Linked DNA regions of Homo sapiens: region 2 is linked to region 1. Evidence: promoter capture Hi-C in human tissues and cell types (Jung and others, 2019). All regions are on one chromosome and are shown on one strand. The core of a region is centred on a gene start or on the middle of the fragment in contact, and the rest is flanking DNA. Distances in the headings are between cores, read along the strand shown.

Region 1 (7,386 bases), core at 1,510-4,009:
CAAATCCTCACATTTTGGGCACACGATCTTGAACTTCCAGGCTTCACTCTGCTGTTCTGTCTATAATGTTCGTCCCTCCTTCTCTGTCTAGAGAACTCTTTTCTTTTCTCAATTAACTCAAACGCTATGTGCTCTGGCAAGGCTTCTCCTGCTGTTCTTGGGAGAAAAGTCTACTGCCTCAAGGAAAAGGAACCGAGATCTTTTCTGCTAGGTGATCAGAGGAAACTTCACAGAGGTAGCTTTTGACCTAGACCTCCTAGTGGGGATAGGAGATCCTTGAGGTGAGAAGAAAAGGAGATAGAGGTCTGACATTAGGAGACTGCATTTAGAGACACCTCGCAGTCTAGCCCCGTTGAAGGACAGGCTGGGAAGGTACAGCTGGGAAGGTACAGGCTGGGAAACTTTAAAGTGAAGTTCTTTAAACTAAGGGAGACAGTTTAATAGGGAGATAACTTAATGAGTGTGTTTTTGATTGTACTGGAAAGCCAAACAAATTCTGGATGTGGGTGTTGTCTGCTTGGAGAAGCAACTGAAATGCTCCCCATTTAATAGCATTAAAATAGTTGATGCTATTTTCTTATTCTGCACTTTGTATAGAACTGTGATTATTATTATAATTTTTGAGACGGAGTTTTGCTCTTGTTGCCCAGGCTGGAGCGCAATAGCACAAACTCGGCTCACCGCAACCACCCCCTCTCGGATTCAAGCGATTCTCCTGCCTCAGCCTCTCGAATAGCTGGGATTACAGGCATGCGCCACCACGCCCGGCTAATTTTGTATTTTTAGTAGAGACAGGGTTTCTCCATGGTGCTCAGGCTGGTTTCGAACTCCCGAGCTCAGGTGAGGCGCCCGCCTCAGCCTCCCAAAATGCTGGGATTACAGGCGTGAGCCATCGTGCCCGACCAAACGTACCTATTTCCCCCCCCCCCCCGCCTCCCTGAGACGGAGTCTCGCTCTGTCGCCCAGGCTGGAGTGCAGTGGCACGATCTCCGCTCACTCCAAGCTCCACCTCCCGGGTTCACGCCATTCTGCCTCAGCTTCCCAGTAGCTGGGACTACAGGCACCCGCCACCACGCCTGGCTAATTTTTTGTATTTTTAGTAGAGACGGGGTTTCACCGTGTTAGCCAGGATGGTCTCCATCTCCTGACCCCGTGATCCGCCCGCCTCGGCCTCCCAAAGTGCTGGGATTACAGGGGTGAGCCACTGCGCCCGGCCCAGACGTACCTATTAAAGAGACATCCTGGCTGGGCACAGTGGGTCACGCCTAATCTCAGCACTTTGGGAGGCAGAGGCGGGACAATTGCTTGAGGCCAAGAGTTCGAGACCAGTCTGGGCAACAAAGTAAGACCCTGTCTCTACAAAAAAAATAAAAAATAAAAGGTAGATCCAATTCATTCAAATAGTATTCACTAGCACCTACAATGTTCCGAGCCAGGTGCTGAGTATCATGGGAGAAAAAAAAAAAAAGCCAGAGTCACAGCTCTGGCAGGGCGTGGTGGCTCACGCCTGTAATCCCAACACTTTGGGAGGCCGAGGCGGGTGGATCACCTGAGATCAGGAGTCCGAGACCAGCCTGACCAACATGGTGAAACCCCGTCTCTACAAAATACAAAAAATAGCCGGGTGTGGTGGCGCGCACCTGTAGTCCCAGCTACTCGGGAGGCCGAGGCAAGAGAATAGCTTGAACCCGGGAGGGAGAGGTTGCAGTGAGCCGAGACTGCACCACTGCACTCCAGCCTGGGCAACAAGAGTGAAACTCCGTCTCAAAAAAAAAAATAATGATAATTTTGGGAGGCCTAGGCGGTCGGATCACCTGAAGTCGGGAGTTTGAGACCAGCCTGACCAACATGGAGAAGCCCCGTCTCTACTAATAATACAAAATTGGCCGGGCGTGGTGGTGCACGCCAGTAATTCCAGCTACTTGGGAGGCTGAGGCAGGAGAATCTCTTGAACCCGGGAGGCGGAGGTTGCGGTGAGCCGATATCGCGCCATTGCCCTCCAGCCTGGGCGACAGAGCGAGACTCCGTCTCAAAAAAAACAAAAACCAAAAACCAAAAAACTAAGTACGTCTTTTAATCTATTTCTCCAAAGAAGCTTCTATATTCTACTTTCCAGCCAGCCCCTAGAAACAAGCAGTATACTTCTACCCAGATCTCAACCACACTCCCGCCCAGAAGTTAACTCTGGGGTGAGCAAAGCTGGCCCCCACGTTGTCCTTCCGCAGAACCTTTGGTAGGGTAAGCTCCCGGGGCCACTTCCCGCCAACCCCTCCCTGCAGCCCAGCCCCACCCGCGCATCCCCGGGCGTGGCCGAGCACGGCGCCTTTAAGAAGGGGGAGGCGCCCAAGAGGAAAGACAAAGCCCCTGGCCGCGCGCTCACCCTCCCCCTCCGGCGCACCACACGGACAGTGGTGCCCGGATGTCGGTGTCGCCGTCGGTGACAGATGGCGCAGTATCTGTATATGCGAGGGGCTTCTCCGGCTTGACCTCTTTGAGTTCTCGTCCTCTCCATCCCCCGCTGTCCCCCACTTTTAACTCTGCCGTCGGAGGCCCGCACGCCTATCACGGGCGCTTACATAACGTGACCTTTCACCTCTTCAGACTGCCCTCTAGTGCGCTGCAACCCAACTACGCGACAGGGGCAGGGGGGCGGGACCCAGGCGCGGAGCGGCAGCTCCTCCGAGCCAATAGGCTGTGAGCGCTGACCAGCTCTCCGCCTATTGGAGCATTCGCCACCGGCGCCACGGGGGAGCAAGTTAGTGTGTGCGTTGGCCGGGCCCGGGGGAGGAGGGGAATCTCCCGCCATTTTTCAATAATTTCCTCCGGTGCTGCTGAGGAGGAGTCGTGACTGCCGGCCGCCGGGACCCGAAGCGGAGGTCGGCGGGGGGCTGCTGGGAGGCGCGGCGGTGTGCGCGGGAGCTCTGCGCCGTGGCGTTCCGCTCCATGACTGTCGCGCGGCCGCGCCGGCGGTGAGGGAGCCGGAGTTCGCGCCGCCCTCTCACCCCTCCCTTCCCCCACCCCACCCCCGGGCGCCTGGCGCTCGCTCCGGGCCGCGGGGCCTAGTGCTGCGCCGCGGGGCCGGCCCCAGCAGCCGCCAGTCCCCACCGCCGCCGCCGCGATGGCGCCGCTCCTGGGCCGCAAGCCCTTCCCGCTGGTGAAGCCGTTGCCCGGAGAGGAGCCGCTCTTCACCATCCCGCACACTCAGGAGGCCTTCCGCACCCGGGAGTATCCTTTTCCAGCCGCGCGGGCCGGGCTGGGCCGGGCTGGGCCGGGGTAGGGCCTGGGGCTCGCGAGACCAGGTCAGCCGCGCATCCCCGGCCCGGGGCAGCTGTCAGCGCGCCCCGGCCGCTCGCGGGCCTGGAGGCTGAGTCTCAGCCTGCGCCCGCCGATCCTTCCAGGGGATCCGGCGGGGGGCGCGCACCGGCCCTGGAAGGAGAAGGGCCCGCTTCGGCCGCCCCCGGGGCCCCGCACTTTGTCCCGGGGCCTCGCCGGCGAGGAGCGCATCCCCCATCCCCATTACCTTCCCCGGGTTGGCTTTAGGCCTTGAGGACCCGAGAGGGAGGAGGAGGCGTGGGGAGGGGGAGCTAGGTTTTCTCCTTTAATTTTTACAAAAATTTTTTAAAAATTTAAATGAAACCTGCAGCTTAAGTTTTGAAATTGTACTCGCGCGGCCTCGTGATGCGGCGTGTGCAAGACTCAACTGCGTCTTACCCCGATCTCTGCGGGGATACTTGGCGTTTTTTTCGTCTCCCGAGGGGACTTTAGGCCGGGGATGAACTGACAGGACCCTGGGGCAGAAAACTAGGAATGAGATTCCCCGCTTAGAGGAAAGGGAGGGAAGGAAACTGCCTGTGGAGGAGCTGATGCCTGCCTTCCCTGGGCAGACACAGGTTTGAAATTTTGAAGGTTTAGAAGGAGATTGGTATTTGTTAAAATTAAACAAACAAAAAAACCAAGACGTGAAGTTTTTATGTTGTATTTTAGGAACATGAAATTGGATGTTTTACAAAGGAAGCATCCTCTCGTCATGACTAAGATTTCTTGCATAAGCATTATCTTTTAGTGAAAAGTTGTGCAGCTTTTATTTGCTTTTTTTTAATGGGTGCCAGAAGAATCGTTTTTGAGGCTTATCTGTAAAAAAAACAAAAACGATTTCGGAATCAAGCATTTCTTTGGTGACTGAAAGCTTTAAGAGTGAAGGCTAATGTGTTATGAGTTTTCTCAGCCCCTTCTGTTCGGAAGGACTTCATTTCTCAGTTTCTTGCTTGCTTCTGTATAGGAGGAAGTGTCTCTCAGAGTTATTTCATTTCTCCCTGATCCTCACTTTAACGCAGTACTTTAGAGGATAATCTCATTCTTGTTGGAGTGCAATTTGTGAGTGTCCCTTTGTGGGGAGTATACACACAAAGGGGCCTGGAAAATCAGTCCATGCTGGAGGAAGGCTCTTGGAGAAATAGAGCTGTAGCATCTTGGAGCTGAAGTGGATCTTGGAGGTGGTCGGGTCCTCGGGCTTGGTTTGCTGAGTTGGCCCAGAGAGTGGAGGTTGACTTGTTGAAGGTCAAATGATGAAAGAGGAGTAGAATCCACCGCTCTTCCTACCTCATCCCTGTAAGTCAATCAACAGAAGAAGGTGGAATGTTACTCCTTCACTTTCAATTAATTTAAATATTACCTCACTTTTTTGTCATTATGGTATAAGGTAAGGCACTTTAAAGTGGAGGGGTGGTGATCTGGTTTTTTTCTTGTCCTGTGAAGACTTGGAATGTTCTGGAGAAGTTCCACTAGCTCTACCAAATACTGCATTATACCGAAGTACCCCACTTTTTTTTTTTTTTTTTTTTGAGACGGAGTTTCCCTCTTGTTAACCCAGGTGGCAGTGCAGTGGCACGATCTGGGCTCACTGCCATCTCCGCCTCCAGGGTTCAAGTGATTCTCCTGCCTCAGCCTCCTGAGTAGCTAGGATTACAGGCGCGTGCCACCACGCCCGGCTAACTTTTTGTGTTTTTAGTAGAGATGGGGTTTTACCATGTTGGCCAGGCTGGTCTCAAACTCCTGACCTCAGGTGATCCGCCCATCTCGGCCTCCCAAAGTACTGGGATTAACAGGCGTGAGCCACCGCGCCTGGCCAGTACCCTACTTTTTAATACATTCGAATCGGCAGTGGAGTAGCAACTTGTGAGAATCCGACATATACTTTTCCAATGTCATTAATGTTTTGAGCCGTTGATGGATGCTCACACACTTTCAGATGATACTTTCTCAGGTCTGGTTCTAGCAGAGTATAAGAAACATGCCATAGAGAAGAGACAATTTCTAAGTATATTTCAGGTACTGAGCTATGTAAAAAATGGCTGTAGGAAGTTAATTTAGGACTGGCAACGCAGGCTTTTTCATATTATTGAATGAATGAAATTGAAATATATATATGAAGAGTTTTGATGGTAACAATTTAAAACTGAAACCGGAAACATTTTAAGTGGTATGTATTTAATAAACATTCTTCATTTTTTAATTTCCCATAACAGCATTTAAAACTGTTTTAACAAAAGAAGTCTTAAAACATATTATATATTGGGGGGAAATTGCTCTTTCGGGAATTTCTGCAAGTGGAAGCACTTTGAGGATGGTTTTTAAACAATTGTACTGTATGGTTGGCAGATTGGCATATTTCTTTATTAGGCTATTAGTGGTTTCATAGAGGAGAACAAATATGTGGTTAGGTAACAGCTGCCTTTGAAGTAGTATTCCCAGTTCTCAACTTATATTTACAATTATGTTTTTAATGGGACTTGATATTTTAATTTTCTTTTAATACCTACCTTTTGATTGCATGTATCACAGAACTTTGTGTGATATTTTACTGACTTAAAGCTGTATGTTGGTATGTTCTTGGAGTATATTGTGAATCTTCATTAAACTTAGTGGAAGTTGTGAGTAATGCACACATTTAATGACTAGGTGTTAAATATTGGTGATTATGTTGATTGTACTGTAGCTTTGTATGGTACATTACTTCCTAAGGTATTCCCACAGGCAGGACACTAGATCTTGGAAAACACTAACTTTATCAGAATCAGTTCTTGATGTGACACTGACTGTATTTAAGTCAAGATAGGTTTTAGGCAGGAATTGGAGCTACAAGCAGCGTGTTGTAGATGAGTATTTTTGTTGTGTTACTTCAACTGTCATAGTTTCTAAAGCTTAGAAATAACTAGTTCACGACCTTTGTAGCATCATTATGTGAGAATTTATTGAGGGTATGATAATGAGGGGCTTATTCATACTGTTAATCTGGCTCTACACAAGTGTGACTAGAGCATGTTTTTGTTTTGTTTTAAGAGATGGAATCTTGCTGTGTTGCCCAGGCTGGAGTGCAGCAGCTGTTCACAGACGAGGTGGTAGCACAGGGAAGCCTTGAACCGGACTCAAGAGATCCTCCTGCCTCAGCCTCCAGAGTAGCTGGGACTACAGGCACGCACTACTGCGTCTGCCTTAGAGCATGTGTTAAGAGTTGAGTAGCTATAGATGGAGTTAAGTTGTAGTTGTAAGATAGAGTTTTACTGGACATTTGGAATACTGAGCTCTTACGTTGATTTTTATTTTTATTTTTATTTTTATTTATTTATTTATTTATTTTTTGAGACGGAGTCTCGCTCTGTCGCCCAGGCTGGAGTGCAGTGGCGCGATCTAGGCTCACTGCAAGCTCCGCCTCCCGGGTTCACGCCATTTTCCTGCCTCAGCCTCCTGAGTAGCTGGGACTACAGGCGCCCGCCACCACGCCTGGCTAATTTTTTTTTTTTTTTTTGGTATTTTTAGTAGAGATGGGGTTTCATTGTGTTAGCCAGGATTGTCTTGATCTCCTGACCTTATGATCCGCCCGCCTCGGCCTCCCATAGTTCTGGGATTACAGACGTGAGCCACTGCGCCCAGCCTGATTTTTATACATTCTTTAAAGTAATACGTTATGCCATATTAGACTTGTTTTTAACTTAAAGACAGTCTGGAGTCTTTAAGAGAAAAAATCGAGTAAGAGAGAATATCGAGTAAAAAGCAAATCTTGAGTTGGCTCACTCTTTGCCATCTTCTGACTTAGAGCACTTAGGTTAGTTACAGTTATGCTTGTTTGACTCTATACTTATCTGGGCCACATCTTTTCAGGATATCAAGTACTTAATTGAAAGAAACAATCCCTGCAAGACTGAAGAGAACAAAGCAGCAGCATATTGTGATAAGGAGGTAGCTGATGGCAAAGTAGATACATAATGAGATAGTCTAGGATTCGAAAATATCTTATCTTTTATAGCTTACACAACCTTTGGAGAATTGCTTTGACATTTTGTCTGCAATTATATGTGCAGCAGTTGCTGGAACATAAAAACCTCAATT
Region 2 (7,386 bases), core at 1,582-4,081, 1.2 Mb before region 1:
AGCCTGGCCAACATGGTGAAACCCTGTGTCTACTAAAAAACACAAAAATTAGCCAGGTGTGTTGGCACACACCTGCTATCCCAGCTATTCGGGAGGCTGAGGCAGAAGAATCACCTCAACCTGGGAGGTGGAGGTTGCAGTGAGCCAAGATCGCGCCACTGCACTCCAGCCTGGGCAACAGAGTGAGACTCTGTCTCAAAAAAAAAAAAAAAAAAGAGAGAAATGAAGGCCTATGTCCACACAAAAGCCTCTACACAATGTTCATAGTACCTCTATTTGTAATGGCCCCAAACTGGAAGAACCCAAATGGCTATCAACAGACAAAGAAATGAATAAATTTTGACTCAGGCATACAATAGAATACAAATCAACAATCAAATGGAATCTACTACTGATACGTGCAACGCTGTGGATGAATTTCAAAACAATCATTTGAAATGAAAGAAGCCACACTGCTCCCCGGCCCATGAAAATAGTCCACATTTTATTATTTCATTCATAAGACTTTATAGAAAATGCAAACTAACCTAAAACAGAAAACAGATCCGTGTTGCCTGAATACTGGGCAGGGCAATGAATAACAAGGGGACACAGGAAACTTTTGGGGTTATAGATATTTCATTATCTTGGATGCAATGAAGATGGTGTATTAGATATGTAGATGGCAAAGCTAACCAGATTTTTTACTTTAAGTGTTTAATATACTATAATTATGCAGTGAGAAAAAATTAAGCTGACATTATCTGCATTTGCCTAATAGGTTTGTTTTATTTTGCAACACTAGAACCTGGGATTGAATTCTAAATTGTGCCACAACTTTTGCTCATCCTTTTAAGAACACAAATGGCTATTTTACATATCCCCTCTGGATTGTCTGAGTTGATCTTTTAGCCCCATTTTTAAATGTTTTATCCCCGGGACTGAATTACAATATATATGTCAATCAAGAACTGATCAATAAAATATTATTTAAGAAATTAAAGCAATTGATGAGCAAATTTTAATTTTAACCACGAATAATTTTTAGAAAGAAAAATTGCATTAATTCAAATTACCTTGAATGTTATATTGATAATAATCAGGATCTTCTGATTCTTCCTTTACTGTCACAGCTGCCATTTCCAGGGAAATGCCTAGAAAAGCAAATGCAATGATATGATTGCATGTGAGAACTTTCAGCTAGATTGTGTAGGGAAATCCTCTCTGCCCTCCCTATAAATACAGCAATGCATATTTATTTTAAGTAAAGACTTTACGTCTTTGAAAAGACAAAAGTTTGCTAGGTAGCAGAAGGTAAAAAATCACTATAATCCCAGCCAATGCAAAGTTTTAACCATTTATTAATATTCTGCAATTATGTGCTGCTCTTTTCTCCAGCAAATTCTTATCTTTAGAATCAAAGAAAATTTTACCACACTCCCTTTTCACTTAATATTAAAAATACTTTTATAAACCATTGAAACACACTTATAAACATCAGTTTTAATAACTCAGTATTCCAAAGGAGAGATAGCATAATGGTCAACAATTTCAATAATGAGATACATTGGTTTTTTTCTGCCTAATACATCCCTTTTATTACAGGGATTTGTGTAAGGGTACAAAGCACACCTTTCTGCATAAAGCTTTGCCCACAATTAGGACAGATGATTTGAAGCAGACCTTTGTGGCCAGATACAAAAGAGTACATGTTGTGTAATTCCACTCATATGAAGGTCAAAATAGGCAAAAGCAATCGATGTTATTAAAAAGTTGACTTTGGGAAGGGCCAAAATTGTGCCACTGCACTCCAGCCTGGGTGACACGGCGAGACTCCCTCTCAAAAAAAAAGAAAAAGAAATGAACAATGCATGGGTGCACATACACATTTCAGACTGAGATATTCAACCACAGTCATACCAACCCTAACACAAACGAAATCGTGAGCTCTGACTTGGGCAACTTTGTAAAGAATATTTTCAACTCTAGAGAAAGAGCTCAAAGAGAGTTAAATTGATATACAAAGGGTATGCATCCCTGAAGCAACAAGCAAAAAAAGGAGTTACTCCATTGCCTTCAATCACCAAGGGGAAAGTGTTTTGCTGCTACACAGTGGTGGCAGAGAACACTGCATCTGAGACCTTTGCAACTCTCTGGGCTAACTTAGCACTTTCATGTCCATCAGTAAAAGTTAATAGAAAATTACAGCTAACAGCCAGGTGCGGTGGCTCGTGCCTGTAATCCCAGCACTTTGGGAGGTCCAGGCGGGCGAATCACCTGAGGTCAGGAGTTCGAGACCAGCCTGGCCAACATGGTGAAACCTCGTCTCTACTAAAAATACAAAAATTAGCCGGGAGTGGTGGCACGCACCTGTAGTCCCAGCTACCCGAGAGGCTGAGGCACAAAGATCACCTGAACCCAAGAGGTGGAGGTTGCAGTGAGCGGAGATGGTACCACTACACTCCAGCCTGGGCGACACAGCAAGACTCCGTCTCAAAAAAAAAAAATAAAGAAAGAAAGAAAATCACAGCATTACAGCTAACAAAAAAGGCAGATCCACTGGGGATTCAGACCCTTCAGGAATAAAAATTTGGGTCACTCCAATTGGCTAAAGAACCTTACACATACTGGCTGGGTGCAGAGGCTAATGCCTATAATCCCAGCACTTTGGGAGGCTGAGGCGGATGATTACCTGAGGTCAGGAGTTCAAGACCAGCCTGGTCAACATGGTTAAACCCCGTCTCTACTAAAATAAATAAATGAATAATACAAAAATTGGCTGGGTGGCACACGTCTGTAATCCCAGCTGCTCGGGAGGCTGAGGTGGGAGAATCGCTTGAATCTGAGACACGGAGGTTGTGGTGAGCCGAGATCGCACGACTGCACTCCAGTCTGGACGACAGAGTGAGACCTTGTCTCAAAAAATATAAATAAATAAAAATAAAAAGGTAAATCCAAAAAAAAGTCTGGTAAGCTGCAGAAACGTAGACTGTGGCGACTATGCCTATTGTCTTCCTTGTCTGTTACAAATGTGTTTGTGTGAAGATTATATGCTTGCATATACTAACTATTCTCTTCTGTGTGGTAGTATTTCACAATAGTTTGGCTGGAAGTTTCCTTTCCATTTGTCCATTAGACTAGAGATTACTCAAATAGGTTTGCACTGCATTTAAAGAGCAGGTAACATAGCTCGCGACTGGATTTTCAGTCAGTCTCCCAGCGATGGGTGTGACTGCTGGAACACTGTGTCCCCCCATTTTGAGGAGAGAGTAAAAATGGATTTCTTTGTAGGAAGTAAAGTTGCATCTCTTTAGATGGAACAGTTGTCTCGTTGTTGTACAGAAGGTCAAATGTGCAGGGAAGGGTGTGTATATATGCTGAGCAGCCAAAGAGAACAGCCTGGGCCACCCACAAAACTGATGTCTCTCAGTTGCAAACCCATCCTCTGGGTTTCTGCTGAAGTTTGAGCTCTGCATAGCAGCTGGCTCCATGTGAGTCTCTGCCACAAAGATACACTACAGAGAGAAAGGCTAGAGGAGGAGAAGAGATCTGGGCCTTCCTTTTGGCTTCTTGTCTGCATTCTCATCCCAAAAAGGTCACTCCTTGGTACCCTCGTTCAGCCTGGCCAAAGCAGGCCCTCCCATCACAACAGCTGTGCCCGGCTGGCAATGTCTCCAACACTACCAGAAGCAGCCTCACCATGCCCCTCAGCCACCAGCACCAGCCAAACACTACCCCACCTCAGAAGTCAGATGGAAAGCTGATGGGGTGGCAGCCACTGCCTAGAATTGTTCCTTAAAAAAAACCTTAGTATTCTCCTTAAGGTTACAAAGTTAACAATTTTATAACCAGTTAACAATCTGTTTTTGTTTGTTTTGTTTTGAGATGGAGTTTCACTCTTGTTGCCCAGGCTGGAGTGCAATGGCACGATCTTGACTCAATGTAACCTCTACCTCCTGAGTTCAAACGATTCTCCTCCCTCAGCCTCTTGAGTAGCTGGGATTACAGGCGCCCACCACCATGCCCTGCTAATTTTTTTTGTATTTTTAGTAGAGACTGGGTTTCACCATGTTGGCCAGGCCGGTCTCCAACTCCTGACCTCAGGTGATCCACTCGCCTCAGCCTCCCAAAGTGCTGGGATTACAGGTGTGAGCCACTGCACCCGGCCAACAATCTTTACATTAAATTTTCTCTGTTCCAATAACTGATATGGTTTCTGTCTCCTGGCTGCACCCTGGCTATAAATGTACATCTTATTTGCAGGATAAATTAAGAATACAAAGATGCAAAGTGTAAAAGAGAAAAAAAAAAACCTATAATGATGCTGATGTGTACATAAAGACAGTTGAAAGAATTCAATTAAACACATGGGGTTTCTGAATTCAGCATGTTTCTTTTTAGAAGCAAACTAAATATTCAGGAGATGAATATATGAATTAAGGGGAAACATTTGCAAAATGATGATTTTTTTTGGCACAATCTACTGAAAACCACACAAAAATTTGAGATTTCCTATGGAGTGAAAATAAAGAAAAAAGAAAAACCTTCTGTAAAACCAGCAAACAGTGTAAAAGACTCAAATACCTTTTCCAAAAAAGGATAATTCAACACTTTCTTGCAGCTCTCCCAAAATACACTTACATACATAAAAGCTCTCATTCACATGCACGCACACACACGTTAACGCGGCCCTACCCTCCTCCCCAACAACTCATTCGAGATGCCCTTAGATGGGGTGAAGCGGGGCAGGTGGCTGCCCAGGAAGCATGGCAGAATGAGAAGGCTGACAAAGGGCCGGGGAAGGGGCTGGGGAAGCTGCCGAGGGCCTGGTCAGACAGAGGGAGATGAGGGGGCAGGCAGGGCGGTGACAGCCCACTAAGGAGTGTCCCGTGTGAATAAGGGGCACAGGGCCGAGCAGCGGGAGGCTTGACAGTGGCACTAGGACACAGGATAACACTGGGAAATGATGAAATAAATACATATGCTGAGAACATCTGGGTGCCACGGTTCTAGGACAGAACAGAATTATAAACGGGGGCCGGGCACGGTGGCTTATGCCTGTAATCCTAGGACTTTGGAAGGCTGAGGCAGGAGGATCACTTGAGGTCAGGAGTTCAAGACCAGCCAGGCCAACCTGGCGAAACCCCGTCGCTACTAAAAATACAAAAATTAGTCGTGCGTGATGGCGTATGCCTGTAATCCCAGCTACTCGGGAGGCTGAGGTGGGAGAATCGCTTGAACCCAGAGGCAGAGGTTGCAGTGAGCCGAGGTCGTGCCACTGCACTTCAGTCTGGGTGACAAAGCAAGACTCCATCTCAAAAAATAAATAAATAAATAAGGAATTAAATAGCAATTTTATTTGAGAATTGAAAATGGTCTCCTTGGAGAGTGGAAAACAGGAGTGCAGAGAAGGAAGGTGGAGACGAAGGGGGCATTCTATTGATTTTTGTAAAAAGCACTATAGAACAGCTGACCTCTTACATTATATGTCTGTACAACGGGAAAAAAAAATACATTTTATCTACAAACATATGTAACTGGCAAAGAACTCTGCCTACCACTTACTGAGCAAATTACCTTTCTGGGTCTTAATGTGATAACATTAACAAATAGTGTCACAGTTGGAATACATTAGTAGTGACTGCCTCTTTCTTATCAAAACAAAACAATAATTGAGTCAAACTATAAACTTCTACACTAAGGAAAAGTCTTCCTTAATTTCACCATTGATTCTAAAAGTGCTAGTACATACCAGAATCTTCTGTGGGTTCAGTTTTCACTTTGATGGGGCCACAACTGCAAGGAGAAGAAAGCCCTGATCAAGCCACGTGCTGGTGACAGCCATTCCCACAGCATTCAAAGTCTCTGGGTCTCAAAGTGTTAAGATCCCTCCCTTGACCAAGGTGGGTGCAAACCTGACTCAGCTTAAAACTGACATATTTATTTATTGCATAAATAAGAGTTATTGGGCCGGGCACAGTGGCTCACGCCTGTAATCCCAACACATTGGGAGGCCGAGGCGGGCAGATCACGAGGTCAGGAGTTCAAGACCAGCCTGGCCAATATGGTGAAACCTCATCTCTACTAAAAATACAAAAATTAGCCAGGCGTGGTGGCGCTCACCTGAATCACTTGAATCCGGGAGGTGGAGGTTGCAGTGAGCTGAGATCATGCCACTGAACTCCAGCCTGAGCCACAGAGGGAGACTCTGTCTCCACAAAAAAAAAGAGTTATCAACTGAACTTAGTACTTCAATTTCTATCTATCTTTTGGGGAAAAAAGTACAATAAAATACTACAGAGTAGCATATTAAGACTTATCGGGCCAGGCGTGGTGGCTCATGCCTGTAATCCCAGTACTTTGGGAGGCCGAGGCAGGTGGATCACCCGAGGTCAGGAGTTCGAGACCAGCCTGGCCAACACGGTGAAACCCCGTCTCTACTAAAAATACAAAAAAATTAGCTGGGCATGGTGGCACATGCTTGTAGTCCCTGCTATTTGGGAGGCTGAGGCAGGAGAATCGCTTGAACCCAGCAGGGGGTCAGAGGTTGCAGTGAGCCGAGATCGCGCCACTTCACTCTAGCATGGGCAAAAAGAGCAAAACTCCATCTCAAAAATAAAAAAAAAAAAAAAGAGTTACCAACTGAACTTAGTACTTTAATTTCTATCTATCTTTTGGGGAAAACAGTATAATAAAATACTACAGAATAGCATATTAACTTCCAAATACCACTCTAAGGCCAATTCACAGTGTGACCAATGCCTCTGGCTTTTCCCAGGAACTCTACTATTCAGAAATACCAAGTCAAAGAGGGCATGTTCACAAGATCCCCAAATGATATCCTTGCCTATTAAACTTTAAGATGTGTGACATGAGGCCTTTTTAATATTCTGATATCTCAATTATCTAACAACTAAAACTTTTTGAGGTGTGGGAGTTAAACAGCAGTAATGAAATTAGGTTTTACCTTCCACCTGGAGATAGTATTGACCTGTCAGCATCTGTTACCATCACACGACCACCTACATACAAAAAAAAAAAATTGGAGTTAGTTTTTCAACATTTCAAATATAATATGTCTAAAGGCTTTAAATATAGAATTAGTGGGGTAGAACTAGGCTTTGCAGCTCTGGATCACACCAGAATAAACACTGCTTTTCATCCCTTCACCCAACCACAACCTCCTTGAATGAAAAAGCTCTTATTTTCATCAGTGAGAGAAATGCAGAAACATACCATTTGTCTAGTAAGATGGAATATGGAGAATATGACTCTGCTGACATATAAATGATGAAACAGATTTTTTTTTTTTTTTTTTTTTTTTTTTTTTAGAAACAGGGTTTTACTCTGTTGCCCAGGTTGGTGTGCAGTGGCATGATCATAGCTCACTGCAGCCTCCAACTCTCG

What was found. The method cuts DNA at HindIII sites, captures the fragments that hold promoters and counts their contacts. A contact is called where the count stands out against the background at its distance.
Region 2: a fragment that was not itself captured here is called in contact with the fragment with the promoter of BAZ1B in region 1 in 1 of the 25 tissues and cell types used here (dorsolateral prefrontal cortex).

Annotation. Positions count from the first base shown.
Region 1 is chr7:73,517,666-73,525,051 of GRCh38, reverse strand. BAZ1B (bromodomain adjacent to zinc finger domain 1B) reads left to right here and starts at 2,759. Exons shown (of 20, transcript NM_032408.4): 1 at 2,759-3,225. The coding sequence starts at 3,119. RefSeq lists silencers at 2,146-2,285, 2,636-3,515 and an enhancer at 2,416-2,575. The HindIII fragment of the contact is 11,404 bases long and covers 1-5,193 here.
Region 2 is chr7:74,704,779-74,712,164 of GRCh38, reverse strand. GTF2I (general transcription factor IIi) reads right to left here. Exons shown (of 35, transcript NM_032999.4): 7 at 6,947-7,001; 8 at 5,732-5,775; 9 at 1,056-1,133. The region is part of intron 2 of GTF2I-AS1 (GTF2I antisense RNA 1); the gene reads left to right. Among named protein-coding and RNA genes, the nearest start is that of GTF2I-AS1, 20 kb to the left of the region's middle. The HindIII fragment of the contact is 4,442 bases long and covers 611-5,052 here.